Linked DNA regions of Homo sapiens: regions 1, 2, 3, 4, 6 and 7 are each linked to region 5. The links are contacts of gene promoters, found by promoter capture Hi-C in human tissues and cell types (Jung and others, 2019). All regions are on one chromosome and are shown on one strand. The core of a region is centred on a gene start or on the middle of the fragment in contact, and the rest is flanking DNA. Distances in the headings are between cores, read along the strand shown. Region 1 has its middle 93 kb from the start of IGF1R. Region 2 overlaps IGF1R (insulin like growth factor 1 receptor). Region 3 has its middle 57 kb from the start of IGF1R. Region 4 overlaps IGF1R (insulin like growth factor 1 receptor). Region 5 holds the start of PGPEP1L (pyroglutamyl-peptidase I like). Region 6 overlaps IGF1R (insulin like growth factor 1 receptor). Region 7 overlaps IGF1R (insulin like growth factor 1 receptor).

Region 1 (3,651 bases), core at 558-3,057, 450 kb after region 5:
ACTAATTAAGAAATCTTGATATTACTAAAGATAGAGATAATTGACATGGAGTCTGAGAGGCTTCACATATCTGTAATTAGTTCAAAGTCAAGTACTAAGAAAAGGTGTCCCTGATGGAACAGTCTTCCTGAAGAAAACCAGGGACATTCAAACCAGTGTGTCCTCAAACCACTCAACAGAGTTGCATTGCCACTAAAAAAGAATCCTCCATCTGTGTTTACATGTGGAATTAGTCACAGCCAAAAAAGATGGTTATAGTATCAAGTGAGGCTGGGGCACCCTTTGGATTTGTAAATTGCTGAATTGCATTTGAAAAACTTCATTCAAGGAGTGCAATTGGTAATATGGAGATACTTTCTGCGGGGAATCAAGGAGACTTCCTCAAAAAGTGCCATGTCATACAGTGTGTGCTTTTGAGCACCATCTCATCTGGTATTTGGGACATAACAGAAATCTGAGCTCTATTCTATGAGTGTCAATGTCTAGTTGAAAACAACAGAGTAAAACAAAATATCTATCAAGCTAGTTATTAAAAACCAACACACGACCGGGCGTGGTGGCTCAAGACTGTAATCCCAGCACTTTGGGAGGCTGAGGCAGGCGGATCACCTGAGGTCGGGAGTTTGAGACCAGCCTGACCAACATGGAGAAACCCCATCTCCACTAAAAAATAAAAATAAAAAAATTAAATAAAAAAAAATAAATTACAAAAATTAGCCGGGCATGATAGCACATGCCTGTAATCCCAGCTACTCGGGAGCCTGAGGCAGGAGAATCGCTTGAACCTGGGTGGCAGAAGTTGTGGTGAGCCGAGATCGTGCCATTACACTCCAACCTGGGCGACAAGAGCGAGACTCCGTCTCAAAACAAAAAACAAAAAACAAAAACACACGCTTATAGGTTCTCCATCGTCTGCCCCAACAAACTTGAAGAATACCTTTTTTTTTTTTTTCCCCTCAGACAGAGTCTTGCTCTGTCGCCCAGGCTGGAGTGCAGTGGCACGATCTTGGCTCACTGCAACCTCTGCTTCCCACGTTCAAGCAATTCTCCTTCCTCAGCCTCCCGAGTAGCTGGGATTACAGGTGCCTGCCACCATGTTCGGCTAATTTTTGTATTTTTAGTAGAGATGGGGTTTCACCATGTTAGCCAGGCTGGTCTGAACTCCTGATCTCAAGTGATCCACCTGCCCCGGCCTCCCAAAGTGCTGAGATTACAGGTGTGAGCCACTGTGCCAGGCCAGCAAACTTGAATACTTCTTATTCAGGACTCTAACAATGGCTTACTCTGCAGGGTGGGGGAGATGAAGGGAACTCAACTCTTGAGGGGGCGTGGGACAGATATGCAGTCTGACAAAGCCTCCTGGATGATTCTTGTACACTGTCCTGGGGGATCATGACTCTCCACAACCCCCCACACCTTCCCCATCAGAGAATCACTGCACTCATCATTTTATTGAATTTACACTTTAAAAGGTGGATCTGACAGAAATGAAATCAGTGACTCCTTGGAGCTCAGGGTGGGAGGAACTTGGCTGCAAATGGGCACAGTGGAGCTTTCTGGGACAGTGGAAGTCTTCCAACACTGGGTAATGGTGAGGGTTGCACAACTGTATGTTACTAAAACTTGTCCAACTGTACACTTAAAATGGGTGTATTTTATGGTATCTAAATTATATCCCATCAAAGCTGCTAAAAAAAATGGGTCAACCTAATCTGTATGTGTAGATACAATGCCCAAACCACGCTCACTTTCTCCACCCACCTTCTCCAGAATCCCTGTTATCTCAATGGAAGGTGTCACATCCACCCAGATGCCTGGGTGTCTGCCATCATTAATCTCTTTACACCTATGTATCACCTACATCTCACCTACTTCTGACCAGTTCTGCCTCTCTAATATCTCTGGAATCTGCTCACATCTCCCTATCCCTGATTCCACCACCTAGTTCAGGCTGTCATAGTTTCTTTCGAAAGACTGTGAGTGCCTCCTAATGATGGGCCTGCTCTCACCTCCCAGTGCCTTTCCCTCCACCTCAATGATAACACTCCTTCAACCACTCGCCATGGTCCTGAGGACAGAACTTCAGCTCCCCTGCAGGGCACAGTTTACAAGACCTCCCACAACCCAGCATCTGTTTATTTTCCCAGCCTTATCACTTGGCAAACCAAATTGACTTACTTATCTATTCTGTGAAACAAGATAAGCTTTCCTTCTCTCCCTTGCTCAGGCAGCCTTCTCCCCACACTCAATCACTAGGGCAGAAACAGTTGGTCGCTTCCCAGTAGTTCCCCTTCTTCTTCAGTAAGGACACTGACTTCTATAATACCTGGACACCTTGCCATGCAGTCAAAGACCTCATACCCTAGCCTTCCTTGCAGCTATGTAGAACAATGTGATATGTTTTGGTCAATGAGGAAAGTATGGCACATCAAAAGGCCTCCTTAAAAGGCGAGGGCTTCTCTTCCTTCCCTTCTATGTTTATGCTGCCTGGAATGAGGCTGTTGCAGCTGGAGCTCCTGCAACCATCTTAGACCAAGAGGTCATGTGGAGATGGAGCCACACCTGGCAGTGCAACAAGATGGCAGGACCTTATGTTGCCGATGCACAGAGAGCCTCAAATCACGTCTGGTCTTTATATGTGAAAGAAATGAGCTTCTACCTTGTTTCAGCAATTATTCATTTAGGTCTTGGCTATTTGTAAACAAGCAAGATCTTAACTTACATAGAGTGTTTTCAAGCACTTTTTTTTTTTTGAGACAGAGTCTTACTCCGTTGCCCAGGCTGGAGTACAGTGGTGCAATCTTGGCTCACTGCAACCTCCACCTCCCAGGTTCAAGTGATTCTCATGCCTCAGCCTCCTGAACAGCTAGGATTACAGGCATGCGCCACCACACCCGGCTAATTTTTATGTGTGTGTGTGTGTGTGTGTGTGTGTGTGTGTGTGTGTGTGTGTGTGTGTTTAAGAGACAAATGTTTCACCATGTTGGCCAGGCTGGTCTTGAACTCCTGGCCTCAAGTGATCTGCCTGCCTCAGTCTCCCAAAGTGCTGGGATTACAGGTGTGCACCACCACACCTGGCCTCAAGCACCATTTAAACTGATTGGCCTATTCTGTCTGCCTAACTCCCGTTTTTCCTGTAATGCTCAGCCGAGGTGTTGCTTGCACTCGGAAGCCATTCTGGCCTTCCAGAGGCAGTTCAGTTGTCCCTCTCCTCTGGCTTCCATAGCCCCTGGCCCTTCTTATTATGCTCCATTAAGGATAAAGTCTGTCCATATTTTGGCACCATCACCAGATTCCCACAAAAAAGGCCCTTCTCTGACTTCCCTCTGTATGCCCAGCACCAGGAATTGGGGCTGGCACAATGGGTTCTCAGTGTGTTTGCTAGATAAGGAAATGTGTTTAACACCCAAGCATTAACCCAAGAGGAACAATCTCACTGCAACTTTGAAAGGGCACCAAGAGAGCAATTATTTCAATTTTATATCAACTCCGCCTCCTAGAAGGGATCTGTAAACGACAGGTCTGGATATATTACATACATCAATAATTGTCAGAGAAACAATCAAAATCTCACTTGCAATCTCAAGAAGCGTGAGCCATGCTCTTGAATTTGTAAAAGGTTAGATAAATCAAAATCTTTCTCTTACAGTA
Region 2 (3,883 bases), core at 739-3,238, 280 kb after region 5:
GAAATAAAAGCACATGGTTAAAAAATTCCAAACAGTGCAAAAATAATACAAGATTACCTGTGGAGGTCACCAAGCACTTCCGGTTCCTTTCCATGAAAAATAAGTGCTTATTACTTTCTGGGATTCCTTCTCAAAAACTTCTTAATGATTGAACCAGCATTCACCAGCAAACATGCTCTTTTTAAATTAAGCCCTGAAGAATCAGAGTACATATAATGCTCTACACCTTTTTCCACTTAATTTATCTCAGAACAAAGATCTAACCTTTCAAAGAACAGCTGTTGTAGTGAGAATTCCACTCTTTGGAAATGTATAAATCAGACACAAATTCAAAATGCAGTATTTTTTGTGTCAGCCTTGTAATCCTTTAACAGTGAGTCCTATGGGAATTTAAAAATTATGATAGTATCAGCTAATATTTCATTGAGGCATTGTGCCATGTCTGGCCCTGGACTAACCCCTTTTCTTTACCTCTCACAACGACCTTAGAAGGAAGCTGAGTGTCCACAGTCGTGTAGCTGAGAGGCCTTAGGAAGGTAAATTCTCTTCACCAATGTGCAGAGCCAAGAGGTAGCACAGCCAAGATTTTAAGCCAGATCTGTCTGATTCTACTACCACCTACTACAAAGAGCTTTCTTGTCATAGGATAAAGGTGCTGGCTTCTCCACCAGAGGAAAGGAAGCCACTTAAAAACTTACAGAGAGGGTGATCACCAAAGGCCACCAGCTGGCCTCGGGAGAGTGCAGAATGCACTCCCAGAGCTAGGATGAAGAAGCGATGGGGGCCTGACCCCGCCCAGGCGGCCCTGGGCATCAGCATAGGCACCTCACTGGGTTCACAATGGCTCAGAACATGCTCACCTGCTTGAGCTCAGCCTCTTGAACGTCTGCTGCTAATAGCCGCTCTTCAAGCAAAGCACATGTCATGAGACCTATTCAAATACAACTGAGTGGGACCCTGAAACTGGGGCTGGCAATGGTGGGAGCACTAAGTCAGGCCCTCTTGCTGGGAGGTGATGTGAAGAGGGCCACTTCTCATCCCTGCTCTGCTGTCCCCTTAACCGGGGTCTTGAGCAGTGGAGGAGGAGCTCAGGCCCCTCCAGTCAAAGACAGTCCAGGCTGAGTCTAGACAACCCGACCATTCTCATCCCCACCCAGCCCGGCCAGCCTTTCACAGACAGGCACCGGGATCTGTGATGGCCAGCGGCAACAACAGGCGTGATTTCTCCTAGGACACATCACTTTTCACCAAGAAGCCCATCTTGAATAGCTGGGGGTGTGTTTACAGATCCAGGAAAGCTCAGAGCAAAAATACTTAGTTAAAAAGCAAGTTAAAAAATGCATCTTCAGGGCAACCCGCTTGGGTCCCTTTCCATGCTGTGGAAGCTTTGTTCTTTCACTCTTCACAATAAATCTTGCTGCTGCTCGCTTAAAAAAAAAAAAAAAAAAAAAACAATGCATCTTCAGTGAGTACAGTGGCTACCTCGTGTTCCTTTTTTATTTGATGGGAAATAAAGGGGAAGAGAGATTTACTTTGAGTCGGCAGGCCAGATCTGCAACAGGGACTGGAGAACTTTCCAGGCCCAGCAGCCCCGGCCTGGCCCGCATTCCTTCGGGGTGACAGCGCACCAGGGCCGGCCGGCGGTTTCCCCAGTCCTTCTGCCGCCGCCACACAGTGACTAAGCCCACAGGAATCCCAGCGGGTGCTGGACCCACCCGGAGGACAAGCAGGCCGAGAGGAAAGCCTGTGACTGCCCCGACCAGCAGAAGAAGACCTGCTCTCTGCCCTCCAGCCCCTGGGTATAATGCAGGAGAAGCTGGGGAGGCTGTCCAAGGCAGGAGCAGCCCCACCTGAGCTCAGGTGACAGCCCATCTCACTTGCAAGGCCTTGCAGAGACACCCAAGCCCCATACTCAGGACTGACTTTGCTGAGGAATCAGAGAGCAGAGTTTCAGGGTGCACCTTTATCTCCCTGAGAAAGACTCCCAGTAAAAGTCGGTTGTTTGCCCAAAGGAGGCAGAATTAAACTACGGGCAGGCAACCACAAGTTTGCTTTGACAAATAAAACAAGAAAAAAAAAATGTAAACCTACACTGGCCCAATCACTTTCCAAGAGCCTAATTCATGGTAAAACCAGCAGTCCAAGATCTGATTTTGATAAATCACTTCCTGACTCTTCATATATTTTACTCTCTGTACGACTGTTATTTTTATTTTGCAAAAGAATTAAAAGTTTACTGGAAACCACATACCTTTCTTCCTTTACGACAACCTGTCATTCATCACAGCTAAAACATCCACCCATTAAATGATATTTTTACAAGATTAAAGAATGGTTTTAAAAAGAAAGAAATCTCCTTAGTTAAAAATGAACCAAACAAAGGTACCTAATCACTGATCAGCATCAAAGTTTTGTTCCACACATGAAAATAATTCATCAGGCCAGGTGTGGCGGCTCACACCTAGAATCCCAGCACTTTGGGAGGCCAAGGTGGGTGGATCACCTGAGGTCAGGAGTTCGAGACCTGCCTGGCCAACATGGTGAAACCCCATCTCTACTAAAAATACAAAAAATTAGCCGGGCATGGTGACAGATGCCTGTAATCCCAGCTACTCAGGAGGCTGAGGCAGGAGAATTGCCTGAACCCGGGAGGCGGAAGTTGCAGTGAGCCAAGATCACACCATTGCACTCCAGCCGGGGTGACAAGAGCAAGACTCTATCTCAAAAAAAAAAAAAAAAAAAAAAAATCATCAATGTAAAAATGAATTCTGCCTAAGGAGGGGAATTTAAAAAGTCAGAGAAAAGCAAGGAATTAAAATTCAGAAACAAGCTGTTTTATAATTAAGCATCTGCAATTTAACTATACTATGTCACTCTGATTTTCATCTTTCCTTTCTCATAAGAGTCATAGATGTTCTCCGCTCATATAAAGGTGGTAGGAAGGGAGGGAGGGCGCCATGCTAATAGAACCCACATCATGTTTACTAAGAACTAGGCAGATGTGGACAAAAACTCCAAAGATTTAAAAGTTTCTTGACTAGAGCAAGACATCTTCAAGAACTCATCCAACATGGTGCCTAGCCTTCTTCAGAGCAAGACAAGCCACTAAGTCATCCCTGGGTGTGTGTTCAGCAGCAGCCCACTAGGAAGTATTAGGTGAGCTACGATGGGAGAGTAATGGGCAGGAAAATCATAGGAAAGCAGGTCTGGATTTGGGCTGGCTGCTTAGCTGCATGGCACCTTGCACAAGTTATAATCAGGTCTCTTGCCTCCATTTCCTCTTCCACAAAAAATGGAACAGTAATATCCATATCCACCCTACAGACTGTGCAAAGATTAAAGAATACTGGCGAGGTGCCTGGCACCTAGTCATTGTTCAGTGAATGCCAGTCATGATCACGAACACAGTCCTTGCTAAGAGGGTGATATGATTTGGCTGTGTCCCCGCCCAAATCTCAACTTGAATTGTGTCTCCCAGAATTTTCATGTGTTATGGGAAGGACCCAGGTGAGGTAATTGAATCATGAGGGCTGGTCTTTCCCGTGCTATTCTCATGATAGTGAATAAGTCTGACGAGATCTGATGGGTTTATCAGGGTTTCCACTTTTGCTTCTTCCACATTTTCTCTTGCTGCCACCATGTAAGAAGTACCTTTTGCCTCCTGCCATGATTCTGAGGCCTCCCCAGCCATGTGGAATTGTAAGTCCAATTAAAACCTCTTTTTCTTCACAGTCTTGGGTACGTCTTTATCAGCAGCATGAAAACAGACTAATACAGAGGGTAATCACCACAGGAATCCAGACGGGGAGTGGGGTCAGTTCACTGGTACAAGGATCTTGATCAAAGGAACTCATTTCCCACCTGATCCCTATTCACTCCAGGG
Region 3 (3,549 bases), core at 478-2,977, 420 kb after region 5:
GGATGTTAGCTTTGAAACTAACATCAGAAATAATGTGTCTCAATTTCCTTGTATTCCAAAAGGAAAAACTGAGATCTGGAAAAGCAGAGTGACTTTACTGAGGCTACTGGTCCGACAGGACTAGAAGCCAAAGTTTTGTTTCACATGGATTGTTTTAATTAGGTCTTCGAAGCCCCAGATGACCAATGTTTATGCCTCTCACATCAGAAAATGCGCAAAATCTTATAGGAATTCGCTTTTTATTATTTACTTATTCGTTTATTTAGAGACAGGGTTTTGCTATGTTGTCCAGGCTGGACTCAAACTCCTGCGCTCAAGCAATTTTCCCACCTCCACCCCACCAGCAGCCAGGGATCCAGGTGCAGGAGCGATTGAGCCTAACTAACTTCCTTTGGTTTTCTTTTTGTTTTTTTTCCCCGAGAGGAGTCTCACTCTTATCACCCAGGCTGGAGTGCAGTGGCGCGATCTCAGCTCACTGCAACGCCTGCCTCCCAGTTTCAAGCAATTCTCCTGCCTCAGCCTCCCAAGTAGCTGGGATTACAGGCACCCGCCACCACACCCGGCTAATTTTTGTATTTTTAGTAGAGACGGGGTTTCACCATGTTGGCCAGGCAGGTCTCAAACTCCTGACCTCGTGATCTGCCTGCCTCGGCCTCCCAAAGTGCTGGGATTACAGGCGTGAGCCACTGCACCCAGCCCTGTTGTTGTTTCTTTTACAATGTGGGCATAGAAAAGCTAAAAACAGAGCTGGGAAATCAAATAGAACTTTCAACTGTCCAACCCTTTCTCATGAAGCTCAAGGGGCTGGCAGGGAGAGTGGAGGTGGGGAAATGGAGTGACCAAGTCAGACAGCCTTTAAGGAGGGGCTTGTGGAGGCGGAGCGGGCCGTGGTCGGTCAGGTGAGCGGGACTGGCCTTGCAGACTTGAGCTAGTGCCGTGTAGAGCGGGGATGCTGGCATCAGCTGGCTCTTGAGGCAGCTCCTCCGCTGCCTTGCTCGTCTCACCTGGGGCTCTCTACATCTGCCTCGCTAGCTTGCCACAAGGTGGACCATAGATGGGGCGGGGGGGGTGGGACACAGGGAGAGAAGGAAGTCTTTTAAACCAAATTGAGGCGGGTGGCCTAACCTGTTCCCTACTATGGTGTGTCTGTCACCTCCGGGTGGCTCATGTTGACTGTCATCTTTCTGAGGGAACCATGCGACCTGCAAATGTGCAGGCAGGTGACAGAGCCTAGAGAACGGTGGGCATCTTCACACCTTCCCTCCAGGCAGGGCTGTATGGGAACCGCCTGGAGAGCGGAGCACGAGCCTTCCCCACCTCATTGTATTTAGCATCAAGAAGGTTTCTCATTCATTTTTTAAAAATGTTTCAAGACTATCATTGCAGGCAAACCAAAGAAGGGAGTGTTTCAAAACTATTTTACATAACATATACTATGGTCACCCTGAAATTAGTAAATCCTGTTTCACCCTGGCTTTATTGGGAGACAATCTATTAAGCATTGCTGTCAAGGAGTACACGGTGCCTCCTCCAAACAGATAAGAACGTTAACATTTCCCGTGTCAACTCCTCCGCAAGGATCGTGGCAATTCTTTCCTTCAGGGCTTCACCCCCTACAACAACAGCAAAAGGCAGTCCTGTTTCCTGGGCTTCATCTATGACGAGAGAGAGAAAGTGGCATCCTCTTGGAGGGACCTGTTGGGTTCGTGGCTCAGGAGATATGTGGGCTAGACAGACTTGAAGGGGAAAAGATACAGGCGTGCTTTCTGGGAGACAAACACAGGAGAAAGCAGAAAAGAACAGGGGTAAGTGACAGCAAAAACCAAACCAGGGCCAAGAGTTGGACAGGTTCTGAGACAGAAAGGGTTGAATCAGGAGAACTCTTCCGTGTGTTAATGGCTAAAATATTTGACTTTAGAAACAGTAAGAGTTATTTCCTTCTAGAGCAGTTGTTAACAGCTTCCCCAGAAAGACCCACTGGTTTGGAGAATCACAACGTAGTTGTAAAGCTTAGCAAGGAGGATCTGAGGGCTCCGCAACAGGGGGCAGCTCTGAGCTTTTCCAGACAATGGTTTTCTTGGACCTATTCCATGGCTTGGGAAAAAAGGAAGAAGCAAGAGAAACCCAAGGTGGGTGTGGAGGCACACAGCCTCTGGCGGCCACAATGAATGAGGACATGAAGCTAGAATGCAAGCTTCCTATACATATAAAACCCCAAGGATTGGGAAAATACACACTTGGAAGGGGGGAGCTTTTCTTCTGGTTCTATGTAAGCACAGTGGCTGGGTGTGGTGGTTCCTGCCTGTAATCCCAGCAATTTGGGAGGCAGAGGTGAGAGGATCTCTTGAGGCCAGGAGTTCAAGATCAGCCTAGGAAACATAGCAACATAGCAACACTCTGTTTCTACAAAAAATTAAACAATTAGTCAGTGTGGTGGCACACGCCTGTAGTCCCAGCTACTCATGAGGCCGAGAGAGGAGGACCACTTGAGCCAGGGAGTTTGAGGGTGTCGTGAGCTATTGGTCACACCACTGCACCCCAGCCTGGGCCACAGAGTAAGACCCTGTCTCAGGAAAAAAAAATCTAAACACAATACCAGCTGAGGAAAGAGGGAAGTCTATACAGAAGGAGAAAAATGTTTTAGACAACATGTGCTTTTTGAAGCTTGATGCTTTTATATGTGGTAACAAGATCAGAATTTTGTTCTAGAGAATCTGAAAGAGCTTCTCTGAACATCTACTGAGACCAGGAGAAGCAGGGCCATACCTGGAGCTTCCAACTGTTCAGAAGCATTTGGGTTGTTCCAAGGGTGAAAGGACCCTTCAGCTCCATTAAATATGTCATTAGGATCCCTGAAAGATACAGGACCAGTGGGGATGATATTCACTTGAATATTTTACTTTTTCATTTTTTATTTATTCGAGATGGAGTCTTGCTCTGTCACCCAGGCTAGAGCACAATGGCATGATCTCGGCTCACTGCAACTTCTCCCTCCTGGGTTCAAGCGATTCTCCTGCCTCAGCCTCCCAAGTAGCTGGGGTTATAGATGCCTGTCACCATGCTCGGCTAATTTTTGTATTTTTAGTGGAGACGGTTTCACCATGTTGGCCAGGCTGGTCTCAAACTCCTGACCTCAAGTGATCCACCCGCCTCGACCTCCCAAAGTGCTGGGATTAGAGGCATGAGCCACCATGTCCAGCCCACTTGAATATTTTAAGTGAGCATTTTTTGCTGTTTCCCAGCCATATATATCTTATATTCATCTTCTGAGAGGTAAGATGTTGTTTTAACTCAAGTTAGAAGGTATAATCCCAAAACAATGTGACTTTTTAAAATTTAAACTTTTTGTTTTGAAAAAATTGTAGATTCATATGCAATTGTAAGAACTAATACTGAGAAACCCCATGTACACTTTACTCTTTTCTCCAGTGGTAACCTCTTGCAAAATTGTAATAAAATATCACAATGAAATTATTAACATTGATGCAATCCAAGATATTGTTCAGATTTCCCCCTTGTTACTTGTACTCACTTGCGTGTGTATTTAGC
Region 4 (3,687 bases), core at 533-3,032, 320 kb after region 5:
ACAATGACAACCTGGGGATGCTTTGGCTTCTATGCCAAGTCGTGGCTTCTAACACCACCACCTCTCTCTCCCCTGGTTACCACACAGCATCTCGCTGGGGGCTGGACCCTGGTCTAGCCCTCCATAATGCACCCTCCACCCTACTACCAAGGCGGACTTTCCAAACCACAAACCTGACAGTGCCCATTCTTCTGCATTAAGTCCTTCAAAACCTCCCTGTGCCTTCCAGAGAAAAATCCAACCTCCTTGAAATGGCCTAAGACTCTGTGATTTGACCTGTGTCAATACATCCAGTCTCAGCTCCCGATATTCCTTTACTAAGGACGAGACATGGAGCCAACTGAGGTTTCTAAACTCCAAGACACCGAGTACACATGCTTCCCAGCAGCTCCTTCCATCAAAACACCCATCTTCTCTAGGCCAGGCCTTTAACACTCGCCTGGGTGCAGACTCGCCCCTTCACCGCCACAGGACCCCAACTGCACTCATTTCTCTTAAGTTTAGGCACTCGTTTACCTACTGGACTGTGATCCCATGCGCAGCTGGAACTGCACTGTATTTACTGTCCTTCACAAGGGCCAAACCAGCACAGGTCTGAGACACAGCAGGTGCTTAGTAAACACTGGGCAAATGAATGACAAGGAAGTAATCAGTTGCTCTTGTTCACATGCTCCCTCTCTTCCTTCTCCTCCTCCTCCCAAAACCTTTAGGTTTTTTCACATGCTCCCTCTCCTCTCAAAACCTTCAGCTTTTAAGTGAATTCATACCCATAAAAATTTAAATAAGCCAGGTGCAGTGGCTCACGCCTATAATCCCAGCACTTTGGGAGGTTCAGGTGGAAGAACTGCTTGAGGCCAGGACTTCCAGACCAGCCTAGAAAATGTACCAAGACCGCATCTCTACAAAAATTTAAAAATTCACCAGGAGTGATGGCGCAGGAACATAGTCCCATCTATTGAGGAAGCGTAGGTGGGAGCATCACATGAGCCTAGGAGGTTGAGGCTGCAGTGAACTATGCTCACATCACTGCACTCTAGCCTGGACAACAATGTGAGATCCTGTCTCTAAGAAAAAAAAAAAAAATTAAATACTTCATTGATATTTGCTAAAACTCAAAAGTCCCATCAAAACCATAATGAGATACCACCTCACATCCATTAGAATGGATAGCTACTATAAAAAATTTAAAAAAATAAATAAAAATAAACGTTGGCAAGATGTGGAAAAATTGGAATTCTTATGCAGTCTACATGGAAAACAGTACAGTGGTTCCTCAAAAAATTAAAAATAGAACTGCCATATGATCCAGCAATTCCACTTCTGGGTATATACCCAAAAGAACTGAAAGACTTAAGGAAATATTTGCATATCCATGATCACAGTCATATTATTCACAGTAGCCAAAGCGGGGGAGCAACTCAAGTGTCCATCGACAGACAAATGGATAAGCATATATACCACATGGTAATGGACATTATATAAATGTGTTATCACACATACATATATTATTAAATATTATTGGGCCTTAAAAAGGAAGGAGATTCTGGACACATGCTACAGCCTGAATGAACCTTGAGGACATTATGCTCATAAAATGGGCCAGTCACAAAAGGACAAATAGTGTACGAGTCCACTTACATGAGGTATCCAGACAGTCAAATTTACAGACAGAAAGTGGAATGGCGGTTGCCAAAGACTTGGGGAAAAAGGCAATGGGGAGTTGTTTGATGGACATGGAGTTTCAGTTTGGGAAGATGAACAAGTTCTGGAGATGGACAGTGGTGATGGTTGCACAACAATATGAATGTACTTAATGCCACTGAACTCGTACATTTAAAAAAATTCTTTTAAGTAGCCTCAATAGCTGCTGTCTGACACCACCCTTTAAAGTTCAAAATGGTTTCAGACACTGACAGCTGCCACACCACCCAAGGAGGCTGCGGCTCCAAGGCTGGGCAATCAGGCTACCTGCGGTGGAGTGGTGAGCCGCTGATGCCTGGGACCTGCCGCTAGACCTGAATACTGGAAGCACGCTGGTGTTCTTGCACACTCCTGTTCCATCTTCAACAATTATCTGGAGGAAGCACCACCAGGGGCCCAGCCCACAGAGGCATCTTTGGAGGGACCCTGGACAGACAATGAGCAGATATACACATGGTCTGAGCCAGTCGTGGAAAGAGCCACTGGGAAGATACCGAAGGGACACAGAGGAAGAGGTGCCCAGCTGGCTAACAGAGAGTAGAGTGGGCTGGAGGAGACTGATGGAAACCCACTGGGAAGCGGGTGCCCTAGATTATTATTAACCTCCCCAGACTAAGTAAGCAGAAGTTGGAGTCTGTCCTCTAGTAAGTTACAGCCCCAGTAAGAACCCACACAAAGCATGTAAGCATCCAGGCATCTAAAGAACTCAACATCTACCATCCAGCGTGTCCACCCACTTTCCAGGAAGTATGGTGACAGGACTGCAAAGGCAAGCACAGCATCATTCTTCTTCAAAGCCAACAGTTCCAGCCGGGCATGGTGGCTCATGCCTGTAATCCCAGAACTTTGGGAGGCTGGAGGGAGAGGACTGCTTGAGTCCAGGAGTTTGAGTGCAGCCTGGGCAACATAGTGAGACTCCCATCTCTACAAAAAATGTTAAAAATTAGCCAGGCGTGATGGCACACATCTGTGACCCCAGCTACTCAGGAGGCTGAGGCAGGAGGATCCCTTGAGCCTGGGACGTTGAGGCTGCAGTAAGCCATGACCATGCCACTGCATTCCAACTGGGGTTACAGAGCGAGACACTATCTCAAAAATTTAAAAAAAAAAAAAAAAAAAAAAGGAAAAGGAAGAAGAAATATATACATGGAGGGAGCCTACAGTGTGGGGTCAGACTCCTCACAAAGTTTCAAACATTCTGAAGCTCAGGGAGACGAAATAATTTGCCCCAAATCACACTCACTAAATATTAGCGCTGGATAGAATGCAAGCCCAGACTTCCTGAAGCCAAATCCCACATGCGCTCTCTCAGCACACAGTCTCCCGATGACTGCCTTTCTCCTTCTACTCTCTCATCCACAGCAACCCAGTGGCCAAATTTTGCTCCATTTAAAAAGGAAGGAAAGAAAGGTCCCTGTCCTCATCTGGATAAGCTTTAGTTATGTTTGTATAACATTCAGAAAAGGCCATAAAAGATCTTCACTGAGGGCTGTGCTAAGTATTAAGTGTTACTCAATAAACCACAGCATAGAGGTTGCCAACTGACGTTTAGCTATAACCTGGAAAGAGTACTGGCTGAATACATTTTTTTTTCCAATTTCAATTTCTAGGTATCATTTATATTCATCCGCCCACACCCCCCACCTCCCCCATTAGCAAGCATAAAACAAACAAAAAAAACCCCACAGAGCTACAGTTGTAAGACACAACCAGAGTAGGTGGCATATTATGATAAACAAAGATGACAATAAAACATTTTTCCAGCTGTGATAAACATATTTAAGATCTATCAGAGGCTGCCAGAGCTAAAACTGAAAACTATGAAAATTGCAAGTTGTTCATAACACAGAATTTATGTCTTAGAAGCTTTTATTTTTTAGGCAGAAGTTGTCTCACTAGGAGATCATTTCCTTACCTTTTTAAAATCTGAACTTTTAAAGCTGTGACATGTTGAGGCTGTCACACGTCCAAAGTGATTTAACAACT
Region 5 (3,705 bases), core at 40-2,539:
AGACCAGCCTGGCCAAGATGGTCAAACTCTGTCTCTACTAAAAATACAAAAAATAGCCAGGGCTGGTGGCAGGTGCCTGTAATCCCAGCTACTCCGGAGGCTGAGGGAGAGAACTGCTTGAACCTGGGAGGCGGAGGCTGCAGTGAGCCGAGATCGCGCCACTGCACTCCAGCCTGGGCAACAGAGCGAGACTACATCTGAAAAAAAAAAAAAAAGAAGAAGTGGGCATTTCTTAATGGTCCAATCTCTTCCTTTAACTGTGCAGAGGAAGCCAAGCCCCCACTGAGAGGTGACAACATGCTGGTAGGCCTCGCAGCCGTCACTCACTCTCGGCTCCTCTGCCTGGGCTCCCACTTTAACGGCACTTGAGGAGCCCTTCAGCCCGCCGCTGCACTGTGGGAGCCCCTTCCTGGGCTGGCCAAAGCCAGAGCCGGCTCCCTCAGCTTGCGGGGAGGTGTGGAGGGAGAGACGCGGGCGGGAACCGGGGCTGCACGCCGCGCTTGCGCGCCAGTGCGAGTTCCGGGTGGGCGTGGGCTCGGCGGGCCCCGCACTCCAAGCAGCCAGCCCGCCCCGCCGGCCACGGGCAGTGAGGGGCTTAGCACCTGGGCCAGCAGCTGTTAGTGCTCGACTTCTCGCGGGGCCTTAGCTGCCTCCGTGCGGGGCATGGCTCGGGACCTGCAGCCCGCCATACCTGAGCCTCCTCCCCCGCGTCATGGGCTCCTGCGCGGCCTGAGCCTCCCCCACGAGTGCCGCCCCCTGCTCCACAGGACCCAGTCCCATCGACCACCCAACGGCTGAGGAGTGCAGGCGCACTGCACAGGACTGGCAGGCAGCTCCACCTGCGGCCCTGGTGCGGGATCCACTGGGTGAAGCCAGCTGGGCTTCTGAGTCTGGAAGGGACTTGGAGAACCTTTATGTTTAACTAAGGGATTGTAAATACACCAATGGGCACTCTGTATCTAGCTCAAGGTTTGTAAACACACCAATCAGCACCCTGTGTCTAGCTCAGGGTTTGTGAATGCACCAATCGACGCTCTGTATCTAGCTACTCTGGTGGGGACTTGGAGAACCTTTGTGTCCACACTCTGTATCTAGCTAATCTAGTGGGGACGTGGAGAACTTTTGTGTCCAGCTCCAGGATTGTAAACGCACCCATCAGCACCCTGTCAAAACGGACCAATCAGCTCTCTGTAAAACAGACCAATCGGCTCTCTGTAAAATGGACCAATCAGCAGGATGTGGGTGGGGCCAGATAAGAGAATAAAAGCAGGCTGCCCCAGGTAGCAGTAGCAACTTGCTGGAGTCGCCTTCTGTGCTGTGGAAGTTTTGTTGTTTTGCTTGTTTGCAATAACCGTTGCTGCTGCTTACTGTTTGGGTCCGCACTGCCTTTATGAGCTGTAACGCTCACCGTGAAGGTCTGCAGCTTCGTTCTTAAAGCCAGCCACATCACGGACCCACCGGGAGAAACGAATAACTCCAAACACGCCACCTTAAGAGCCGTAGCACTCATGATGAAGGTCCGTAGCTTCACTCCTGAAGTCAGCGAGATCACGAATCTGCCAGAAGGAAGAAACTCCGAACACATGCGAGCATCAGAAGAAACAAACTTGGGACACGCTGCCTTTAAAAACTGTAACACTCACCGCCAGGGTCCGCGGCTTCGTTCTTGAAGTCAGTGAGACCAAGAATCCGCCGATTCTGGACACACCATGACGGAACTAGGTAAGTGATAGGAGCTAGGAGAGCTGCTCACCAGAGGAGGTAGAGACCAAGTCTACAAGTGCATCCGGGGTATATTGAGAAACCGGGTAACTTCTGTGAAATGAGGCAAAGTACAAAAATCCTCTGCATCCCACTCATGGCAAGGTGGGCCCAGCTTCTCAGGACAGGGAGTGGGAGACTAGTGGGAGCAAATGGCGCTTCCCACCTGTTGGCAGTGAAGAGGCCTGCAGCCCACACCAGGAGCTAATTAAAGGGAATTGTTCCTGGTTCAGAATCCCAGAAAGCCACCAAGGGGGGTCTAATCCGCGGGGGTGATCCCAATTAAAAGGGAGCGCTTTATATCAGGAGGACAATTCAGCAGATGGAGCCACGTGGTCCTGCTGTCACACTGAGCTCTCTAGAGGCCGCAGGGTGCTTGAGAGGCTCTGCCTGCTTCCCTGAAGGGAGCTTCTCCTCCCCAGACCTAGATGGGGACAGAGAATCATGGGTCTTCTTCCTCTTAATATACAGCTTCAGGAAAAAAGTATTTTCAGTTTAAAAAAAAGTTTAAGAATATTTTTAGAGACAGGGTCTCACTCTGTCACCCAGGGTGGAGTGCAGAGGTGCAGTTACGACTGACGGCTCAAGTGATCCTCCCGCTTCAGCCTCCCTGAGAAGCCAGGACTATGGGCATATACCACGTTTTGAAAAAAATAATTGATGCAGTCTTGCCACGTTGCCCAGGTTGATCTTGAACTCCTGGCCTCAGGCTATCCTCCTACCTTGGCCTCTCAAAATGCTGAAATTAAAGGCGTGAGCCAGTGCACCTGGCCAAAAGTTTGTTTTGTTTTTAAATAGAATTCTCCGAAAGATCAAGATATTGGAAAACAGCTTTTTCGATAGAGGAAATAGCCTCAAATGTTAGCCTTTTTCAGTTATTCTGACACATTAAAAAGAGGACTGTCTGCAGAGCCAGGTGGCATGCCACGGCTGTGGCTCACTGTCAGTGGCATGTTTAAGGAGTCCAGCACAGTGTCAAGAAAGCACTTTTCGCAGGTAGAACGCAGGGTGGTGAGCACAGAGCTAGCAAGCTTGCACAGACGCTAGCTAGGTGGCAAGCCTCTGTTCCTCAGGGCTGATGAAGCTGGGGACAGTGCCTGGGGCACAGAAAGAATCCATACAGGATCCGGTGCTGCGATCCTCGTTTCTCAAAACAGGAAACCTGAGCACAGAGGTTAACTTCCCTGAGGACCCACAGCTCCTAGGCAGCGGTGCTTGCAATCAATATTTTAAAGGCAGGCGCCATAAGATTCATCTATGGTTTTCTCTCTTTTTTTTCTGCTCACATCTCACATATTTTGTGGAATTAGTTTTCAGAGCAATCAAATTTTACCAAATCATAATGGCCAAACACAATGAGGGGCTCTGGCAGGGATTACTAAAGAGGAAAAAATAAGATCTAAGTAAACGACTTGTAGGGTAGCCCACAGTTCCTAGGACAGTACCTCTTTGAGCACCATGTGGTGTTCCGTCCCAGACATCCTTCTGTCCCAGGCAAACCGGGACAGCTGGTAGCCAAACCCTTAGCTCACCTTTGAACCATCCTGAACAACAAAGTGACCCAGACTCAAATGTCCAGAAAGTCCCTGCTGGCGCTCCAACCCGCTGTCCTGAGCTGGATCGTTCTGCTTTCAAGGGGCATTGCTTTATCACCCTCCCCTAGATCCTTGGCCTTTCGGGGCCCAGAACGCTACGGACGCCGGGCGGCCAGGAGGGGTTGGGCTCCCGCTCCACCCCGGTCCCCGGCGAGCACGCGGCCAGGCAGAGAAGGTGCCCGGAGCTCAGAGCGCGCAGAGCCCGGCCGCTGGGCCGCTGCCTGAGCCAGGGAGGCGCAGCGCGAGCTCCCACTTCGTCTTCATGGATTCCCAGCCCAGCTGCGTGGTGGTGACTGGTAAGACTACATAATTTTTTTCTCTCCTATTTGTTGCTGCTTTTAGCCTGCCC
Region 6 (3,926 bases), core at 530-3,029, 300 kb after region 5:
ATAAATATACAAGAAGCTTCAAAATACCACCATCTGACCCCCAGAACAGTAAATACTTTCCAAAGTTCCTTCACTCGTGAAATCTTAAGATTTTCACAACTGTTCAGTAAACAGGTATAAAAGAACGAAAACAGAATCCCAGAGGTTTAAAAATGCACCCTGCTACACAGCTACCTGCAAGTACAGCCTGAACCTGGGACTTGCAGAAATGGGTCCAGAGGTCTCCCACCTGGGCCAGGTGCTCTGTCATAACCAGGACACCTGAGTATCATAACATCATCACTAGGACCTAAGGACCACTTTCACAGGATATGAGTTAGTGCTTTACCTTCCCTTTATTTAACCATATTCCAAGTCCATTCAAACTAAGGAAGTCCTGCAGAACAAAAAATATCACTTCGCACAAAGGATGAAAGAGCTGACACATAAGCAGCCCCCAGCTGCCAAGGCTCAGGGACTTCCAAGCACACCAGGTCACCTTTCTCATCAGGAATTCAAAGCTGAAGGTCAGCAAGTGTCTAGCCCAGGAGTGTGCTGGATTATTTCTAACATGTGATTTGAACAGTCTTGACAGCAGCCATGATGGCCTCCAGCCACGCCACAGTCCCGCAATCCAAGAGTCCCAGATGCAAAGGAAAGCCAACCAAGACCCCCACTGGGAACCACTTCCGCACAGCAGGCATGCCACGTCCTAAATGCAACACGACTGCACCCTGCCCAGCGGAACTCGTGCACTCAGAAGAGAAGGGAGGTCAAGGAGGAGGAGAGGAGAGAGAGAGGCAGAGAGAAAGCAGCAGTCAGCATCATTCTTACTTTTCTGGCAGCGGTTTGTGGTCCAGCAGCGGTAGTTGTACTCATTGTTGATGGTGGTCTTCTCACACATCGGCTTCTCCTCCATGGTCCCTGGACACAGGTCCCCACATTCCTTTGGGGGCTTATTCCCCACAATGTAGTTATTGGACACCGCATCCAGGATCAGGGACCAGTCCACAGTGGAGAGGTAACAGAGGTCAGCATTTTTCTCAATCCTGATGGCCCCCCGAGTAATGTTCCTCAGGTTGTAAAGCCCAATATCCTTGAGATTGGTCATCTCGAAGATGACCAGGGCGTAGTTGTAGAAGAGTTTCCAGCCGCGGATGACCGTGAGGTTGGGGAAGAGGTCTCCGAGGCTCTCGAGGCCAGCCACTCGGAACAGCAGCAAGTACTCGGTAATGACCGTGAGCTTGGGGAAGCGGTAGCTGCGGTAGTCCTCGGCCTTGGAGATGAGCAGGATGTGGAGGTAGCCCTCGATCACCGTGCAGTTCTCCAGGCGCTTCAGCTGCTGATAGTCGTTGCGGATGTCGATGCCTGGCCCGCAGACTGAAGGGAGACAAGAGGGTAAACGTCTCAGTTAGAAGGAAATAATTTTTAAACTATTTTCCAAACAATAATACAGTTGGTTTTCAGGAATCCTGTATTATTATTAAAGAAATGAGGTTCAATTGTTCACTGCAGAGCTGTGGGTTGCAGACTGACAGTTTAGGTGGCTAACCAGTTAGCTGGCATTTATACAGTGCCAACACTGGACCAGACGCTGTGCAACACACTCCAACCGACCATGGGAGAGGCCATCCCCGTTAACCGTGCAAACTAAAGCTTACAGCCCAGAGGCACACAGAGGCAGAGGCGAAAGTTAAATCTGCAACCCAGGCCAGCCGGACTCCACCACCGCACACTCCTGGTCCGTTCTGCAGAGCGTCAGTTGCCAAGGCCTGAACGACAGCTCAGCAGCCAAGTATCAATAACTTACTACTGCACCCTGCCTGAAGGACACAGGGCAATCAATCTACTCTACACTGGAGAACCGTCACTGTGACTTGTAAAGTGGGGACTAAAAAACGCATGCTTCCATGCTTCCCACTACCATTTGACATAAGCCGAGTAGACTGTGTTCTCTCCACACGTGCATTAATGTAGACATAAAGGATAACCTAACAAGATTAAAAACGTGATTTTTTTATGAATAAAAGCAGCATAAACTCCAACTTTAAGTTTTATTGATCAAGAAAGCATGCTTCCTACAGAGTTTAGAGGTAATAACCAAAAAAAAAAAACCAGTAAAAATCATCAACGATCTCAACATTCCACGATAAACAATGTTAACACTATCTATGCCAATTATCCACTCTCTATAAATGAAGGTAAGTGAAATCAGACAAAAATGACATTTGTAAACACACTTCCTTCACTTAATATTTTACTAGGTCAATACATGTCCTTCTACATCACCATTTTAAGGGGACAGTAGTTCCAGAGTATTAATACACACCATGAGGGTTGTTTTTTTTTTTTAACCAATCCCTTATTGTTGGACATTTAGGTTAGCTCCTGTTTTGCACATTATAAACAACACTCCAGTGAACATTATTGGCAGATACCCAAGACTATTTTCTTAGGATAAATCCCTAGAAGTGGAAGTGCTGGGCCAACGCATTTGCAGATTTTAAAGGCTTTTCATAAAATGGCCTCAATACTGGATGACTTATTTTCTAAATTCTAAGCACAGACACACACCAAGAAAACTCTTTGTGATAACCTTTTTTAGGATTTAATAATCCCAAGTACACTATTAAAGCTTCTCAGATAGAGTGAAGTTTTCTGACTGATGTAATTAATTTGGGAAGCACCCAACATGTATGATACCACGAGAAATGCCAACAGGCAGTGCCCTGCCCTCTGAGGAGGCTCATGGTGAAGGCAAAGAGCTAAGACCCATGAGGAACAACTGTCACATGAGGCAGGTGGTCAGTGGTGTGCACACAGCGAGTCCACTCTAGATGTGAATGGAATTAAGCAGGACAGACAAGAGGTGGTGTCCAAGCTTTGTGCCACCGTGCTAAGGGGAGCTCTGCACACAGGCCGGCTCCCAAAGGGTGCCTAGGATTTAAAGCTCGGTAAATATCCCACAGGCCAGAGACAATGCAGAACAAGGTATGCCCATGTGCCAGCAGATCTGATGGTCAGGGTGAAGAGGGGAGCAGTTGAGGAAATGAATTTGATAGCACCCAAGTCATAAAGGATCACATGTGGGGATAAGAACTTTCATCTCAGAGGAATAAAGCCCCCACAAGGCTCCTGAGCGGGAGAGAAGCCCATGTGAGGCCTTTTGCAGGATTAATCTGGTGGCCCAGTGCAGGACGGAATAAGTGAACAGACGAGGGAGAGAAGAAAAGTCCCACTGGGCATTACATTACAATCAAAGACAGAAACTGAGCAGAGATAGCGAAGAGAAGAGGAAGTGGAGGGACCCAAGGGCTGAGGAGTGGGCAAAGCTTGAGAACTTAGAATGTGAAACTTCATATCATCTAATTCTTCTGTTTTACCAAAGAGAAAATGACACCCCTAAGACAGAGAAAAGAATAGCAGAAACCAGCACTTGGCAAACACCCATTTTAAAGGTGAGGAAACAGATTTGGGGAAGTCAAGTCACTTATACACAGTCACATACATTAGATTTCAGCCCCTACATAGCAAAACTTGACACAAGGCTTGTCAATAGTCCCACCTCTCAGCACCCTCACCTCCTGGTTACCTTTAACCCACTCCGACTGAGCTTCTGTCCCCATTATGACACCGAATAGCTCCTAGCAGAGCCCTCAGTGACACTGTCGAAGTGTCACTTGACCTTCCAGTCACCTGGCATTGCCTCCTCCTCTCGGCTTCCCTGATTCCACACTGCTCTGCCTTCTACCTTACCTCTAAATGTTGGTTGCTATCCTCAACCTTTTCCTCTGTCACCTCATCCAGACAAGTGGCTTCCTGTGCCACTCATACTCTAGATATGATCAAATTCATGTCACTGGCCCAGACTCTTTTGAGCTCTAACGTATACATCCGAGTATATCCATTGAGGTGTCAAACAACTCACTCATCCCCCCACATAATCC
Region 7 (3,724 bases), core at 407-2,906, 340 kb after region 5:
CTACTGGAGCTTGTGAAATATTTCCAGTTATTTTCTACAGAAATTAAACATATCAATTCTACCGGCAGGTCATGTGAGATGACAGGTTTAAAAATGTATGTTGATTGGGGGAGAAAAGCAAAGAAAAAAAATAGAAGAAAATAAAGTCATTTCCTGTGTCAGTTGTAATTTGGGAGGCTTTTTTCCAGTGCCCTTCTAAGTAAATCTGCCATAATCAAATGTAGTCAAATATAACTGCAATGTGCAAAAGCACAGTGATGACCTGAGAGGAAGGTGCCACTAAGAACCCCTGGGACCAGTCTTCTATCTCTTCCATCAGACATCCACTACTACCTCCCCAAAAAGGCTCAGGGTTATTTCATAAACACCAGTAGCCTCCCATGTATTTAACTTAGCACAAATAAGAGAACCAATATGTAAGGGATTTTTTTTGCTCTTAAGAACCAACCATTCCTCTTACCCCAGCCTTTACAGACCTGGAAAACCATCCCTGATTTGCCCCCAGCCTCATCCCCCACTACAACTTAAACAAACCTTCCTCTCCAGCCTTGCTTCCAGCCCCAAAATACATTTTTAAAGTTCTGATGCCAAGACCACCCCATCAAGTCTAGTATAATCCTTCTGATCATCTAAGTACCCTCCTCCAGGAGACCTCCAAGATCCCTCTGGGCAAAATGATCTCTTCCTCCAATTCCAGGGCTCTTTCCCAGTGTGCTCACTCCATCCTCACTCATAAAAGCATCTGGTTCCATTCCACAGCTGGGCACACCTTATCTTCTCAAGAGACAATGTAAGCTCTTTTTAAAACAGGGGCTGCATTTTACACACCTCACATACCTCCTGCAGGTCCCCGAACATCCAAACACTCCAAATTTGTCTCTGTCTCCAAATCCTACAAAACCAAATTCTCTCTACCCAGCTCAGCTCAGCATCCCTGGGGCCCCGATCTACCTCATCTGCCTCCTCTGCTCTAGAGTAAAAGCAACACCAGTCACCCCCACTCTGCCGCCCACTGTAGCCGAATCCAAGTGGCACTCTCAGCCCATGCTCTTATCAGTGCACTGGGGGCAGGCCTACCATCTACCAAGCACCAGAAATGCCCCTCCGAGCTTTGTGCAGCCCCCTTGCCAGGCAGACAGCCTCCAGGGCCAGGTTCGGCACGGGAAGCTAGAACACGGGGCTGACTGCACAGCCTGGGGCAGACACACCTCAGCTTCCACACCCACCTGACAAGGCTGCCCAGAGGATGGAGGGAAGTCAGTGTTTCACCCACTGCCCTAATGGGAAGACAGTGTTTCTCACCCACTGCTCAAGCCTGGAAGCAAAAGGTCCCAATGTTCCTACTCGATGACCCGCCCTGTCATGCCCTGTCCAGATATCTAACCCTCACCTTTCTCTGTCCATCAAGCAGTAAGAATTCATAGCAGCCAGCACATATGACCCTGAGGGCAACGTTCTAACAAAGCCAAAGAAAAGGTGGCACACTGGCCTTCAATTCAAAGCCCAGGGTGGCAAGAAAAGGGTCACTAGTTCCCTGAAAATAACTGGCATGCAAAATTCAAACAGGTAATTGGGGTGGAGTTCATGGAAAAGGGAAGAGAAAACCTCACATGGGTTTGTATACCCTTCATTTAAGCACACTGTCTTCAGGCAGCAGAGGTTTCAAGGTGCATGCTAAACACCCTTGCGCAGGTTTCAGAGAGCAGATAAAAGGGGCTAACCAGGCTCTCAGGAAGCCCAATCCGCACACGCACGGAGCCGAGCCAGTGGAAACCATAAGCCTGTCTCATCTGTCTCTAAACTGCTCACAGGATGAACAGGAAGGCTTGATCGATACTGATTTTACAGTCATAGGAGTGACTCATCACGAAATTCTACCCAGCTTAAAGCTCAGCTGTGAACAGAAACAAAACAACATAATGGCAGGGTCAGATTTAAAATAGTAAGTATGACTGGTAAACAGTTAATGCTCATAAACAATTAACAATCACCTTCCCAGCCTCCTGGATTTGCTGGGAGAGGAAAAAGTACTACTGAGGGCTCTGAAGCGGGCTGCAGCAGTAAGTCTGTCTTCTGTGGCAGCCCCTTCCAACTCACTGATGCTGGTGTCAGCTTTACAAAACAGACCCTGGAGGGTCACGAGGAGCTGCTTTTAATAGAATTCCACACATCTGATGGGTACGTGCTCACTGAGGAGGGGAGAGAGGAGGAATGTACTTACATGGAACAGAGTTTTCAGAGAGTGAAATTTAAGCTCTCCTGGAGTATAACTTCCTCTATGTAGCTCCTGCAGAGTTTAAAATAAGCAACTTATCTGTCCTAAAATGAGAGAAATGGGGTCATATAAAATTTCTCAATAATTGAGTTCCTCTCAAACTGCATTCACTTTAAGGAAAGCACTGGGGTGCTCAGAAGGTGCACTACACATTTCAGGCATTTGGTTACAGAGGCGAATGTGCTCAGCGCCATCCTGAAGACATGTACTTTCAAGTACTGGATTCCATGTAAATTTTAATGATCTGTAACCAACTCTCAGACCTGGCCAAGAACTTCCATAGAGAATCCTGGTCTGGAGATCCCTTCACTATGGCACACTGCTCCACTGTTCTGAACTGCATGACTGTGTCCCCTCCAATTCATATACTGAAGCCCCAACCCCCAGATACCTTCAGTGGTATCTGAAGGTGGGGCCTTAGGGAGGTAATCAGGTTTAGATGAGGTCCTGAGGGTAGAGCCCCCATAATGGCAACAATGCCCTTACATAAAGAGGAAGAGACCAGAGCCCCTTGCTCTCTCCACCCTGTGAGGACACATGACATTTGTCATCTGCAAGCCAAGAAATGGACCCTTAACAGAAACCAAATTTGGTCGGCACCTTGATCTCAGACTTCCAGCCTCCAGAACTGTGAGAAACATAAGTCTGTGGTTTTAGCCCTCAGTCTATAGTAACCTGTCACAGCAGTCTGAGCTAAGACATCCATACAGCCCCGTAAGAGAACCAACCCAGGGACGAGCAACACCTCTCATCATCTGACACCACCTCCTGCCTGACGACCAGGCAAAACAAGCACATACACAAACAAGCAAAAGGGGAGGATGAGAGTGGTCATTCGGGTTTGCTTTGGAGGTCCAGAGAAAATGCAAGTCCAACTTCCAGGCACAGACCAGTTGCCCGCAGCAGGCTTCCTCCCATTGGTCTCAGACCAAGGTGAGCCACTCCCCCGGGCGGGACAGAGAAAGCTCCTCTGGAAGCCAGACAAGCTCGGCCACCTCGAAGTCTTCTTTGGAATCCAGCAGGTCCAGGCCTGAGCCCTGGCGCCTGGTTAAACCAAAGGATGACAACCAAGCAGAAAAAAATAGCCCCAGAGAGTATCTGCTGGAGAGGCAGACAGGCGGACCTGGCCTTCGACACACAGCATGCGTGCCATGGTCTCTAGCAGCGCGTCCCTCCAAGCTTCCTGGCCTGTAAGGCGAAGCCTCTAGCCCTTTTCTACTTTTAGGATGCTCAGATTCTTGCCTGCAGAGGTCAATCCCTTTCTTTCAAGGGCTCCCCCCTCTGTAATGAGGCAGTCCATTTACAATAAAAAAAAAATTGAGCTGTCAAAACAAATGAAAAACTTCCAGTATAATCATAATCAGTGAGGGAATCAAACATCTAAACAAATCTCTCTTCTGGAAAAATAAGAAAATGAAAAAGCAATTACACGTCACATGGCTGATTAGC

Evidence for each region. Contacts are between HindIII fragments. The study calls those that stand out against the background at their distance.
Region 1: a fragment that was not itself captured here is called in contact with the fragment with the promoter of PGPEP1L in region 5 in 4 of the 25 tissues and cell types used here (H1 embryonic stem cells, heart left ventricle, mesendoderm cells and 1 more).
Region 2: a fragment that was not itself captured here is called in contact with the fragment with the promoter of PGPEP1L in region 5 in 2 of the 25 tissues and cell types used here (liver and mesenchymal stem cells).
Region 3: a fragment that was not itself captured here is called in contact with the fragment with the promoter of PGPEP1L in region 5 in 3 of the 25 tissues and cell types used here (mesenchymal stem cells, mesendoderm cells and spleen).
Region 4: a contact is called between a fragment that was not itself captured here and the fragment with the promoter of PGPEP1L in region 5, in 1 of the 25 tissues and cell types used here (spleen).
Region 6: a contact is called between a fragment that was not itself captured here and the fragment with the promoter of PGPEP1L in region 5, in 2 of the 25 tissues and cell types used here (mesendoderm cells and spleen).
Region 7: a fragment that was not itself captured here is called in contact with the fragment with the promoter of PGPEP1L in region 5 in 1 of the 25 tissues and cell types used here (liver).

Annotation. Positions count from the first base shown.
Region 1 is chr15:98,553,226-98,556,876 of GRCh38, reverse strand. No RefSeq gene overlaps it. Among named protein-coding and RNA genes, the nearest start is that of IGF1R, 93 kb to the left of the region's middle. The HindIII fragment of the contact is 3,870 bases long and covers 1-3,651 here.
Region 2 is chr15:98,725,577-98,729,459 of GRCh38, reverse strand. The region is part of intron 2 of IGF1R (insulin like growth factor 1 receptor); the gene reads right to left. Among named protein-coding and RNA genes, the nearest start is that of MIR4714, 57 kb to the left of the region's middle. The HindIII fragment of the contact is 7,726 bases long and covers 1-3,883 here.
Region 3 is chr15:98,589,701-98,593,249 of GRCh38, reverse strand. No RefSeq gene overlaps it. Among named protein-coding and RNA genes, the nearest start is that of IGF1R, 57 kb to the left of the region's middle. RefSeq lists an enhancer at 365-864. The HindIII fragment of the contact is 4,989 bases long and covers 1-3,549 here.
Region 4 is chr15:98,684,067-98,687,753 of GRCh38, reverse strand. The region is part of intron 1 of IGF1R (insulin like growth factor 1 receptor); the gene reads right to left. Among named protein-coding and RNA genes, the nearest start is that of IRAIN, 35 kb to the right of the region's middle. The HindIII fragment of the contact is 3,139 bases long and covers 213-3,351 here.
Region 5 is chr15:99,005,376-99,009,080 of GRCh38, reverse strand. PGPEP1L (pyroglutamyl-peptidase I like) reads left to right here and starts at 1,289. Exons shown (of 5, transcript NM_001167902.2): 1 at 1,289-1,722; 2 at 3,425-3,652. The HindIII fragment of the contact is 12,693 bases long and covers 1-3,705 here.
Region 6 is chr15:98,704,995-98,708,920 of GRCh38, reverse strand. IGF1R (insulin like growth factor 1 receptor) reads right to left here. Exons shown (of 21, transcript NM_000875.5): 2 at 814-1,359. Among named protein-coding and RNA genes, the nearest start is that of IRAIN, 56 kb to the right of the region's middle. The HindIII fragment of the contact is 3,690 bases long and covers 1-3,624 here.
Region 7 is chr15:98,667,212-98,670,935 of GRCh38, reverse strand. All of the region lies in intron 1 of IGF1R (insulin like growth factor 1 receptor), which reads right to left. Among named protein-coding and RNA genes, the nearest start is that of IRAIN, 18 kb to the right of the region's middle. RefSeq lists enhancers at 1-200, 929-1,654, 1,305-2,504. The HindIII fragment of the contact is 8,899 bases long and covers 1-3,724 here.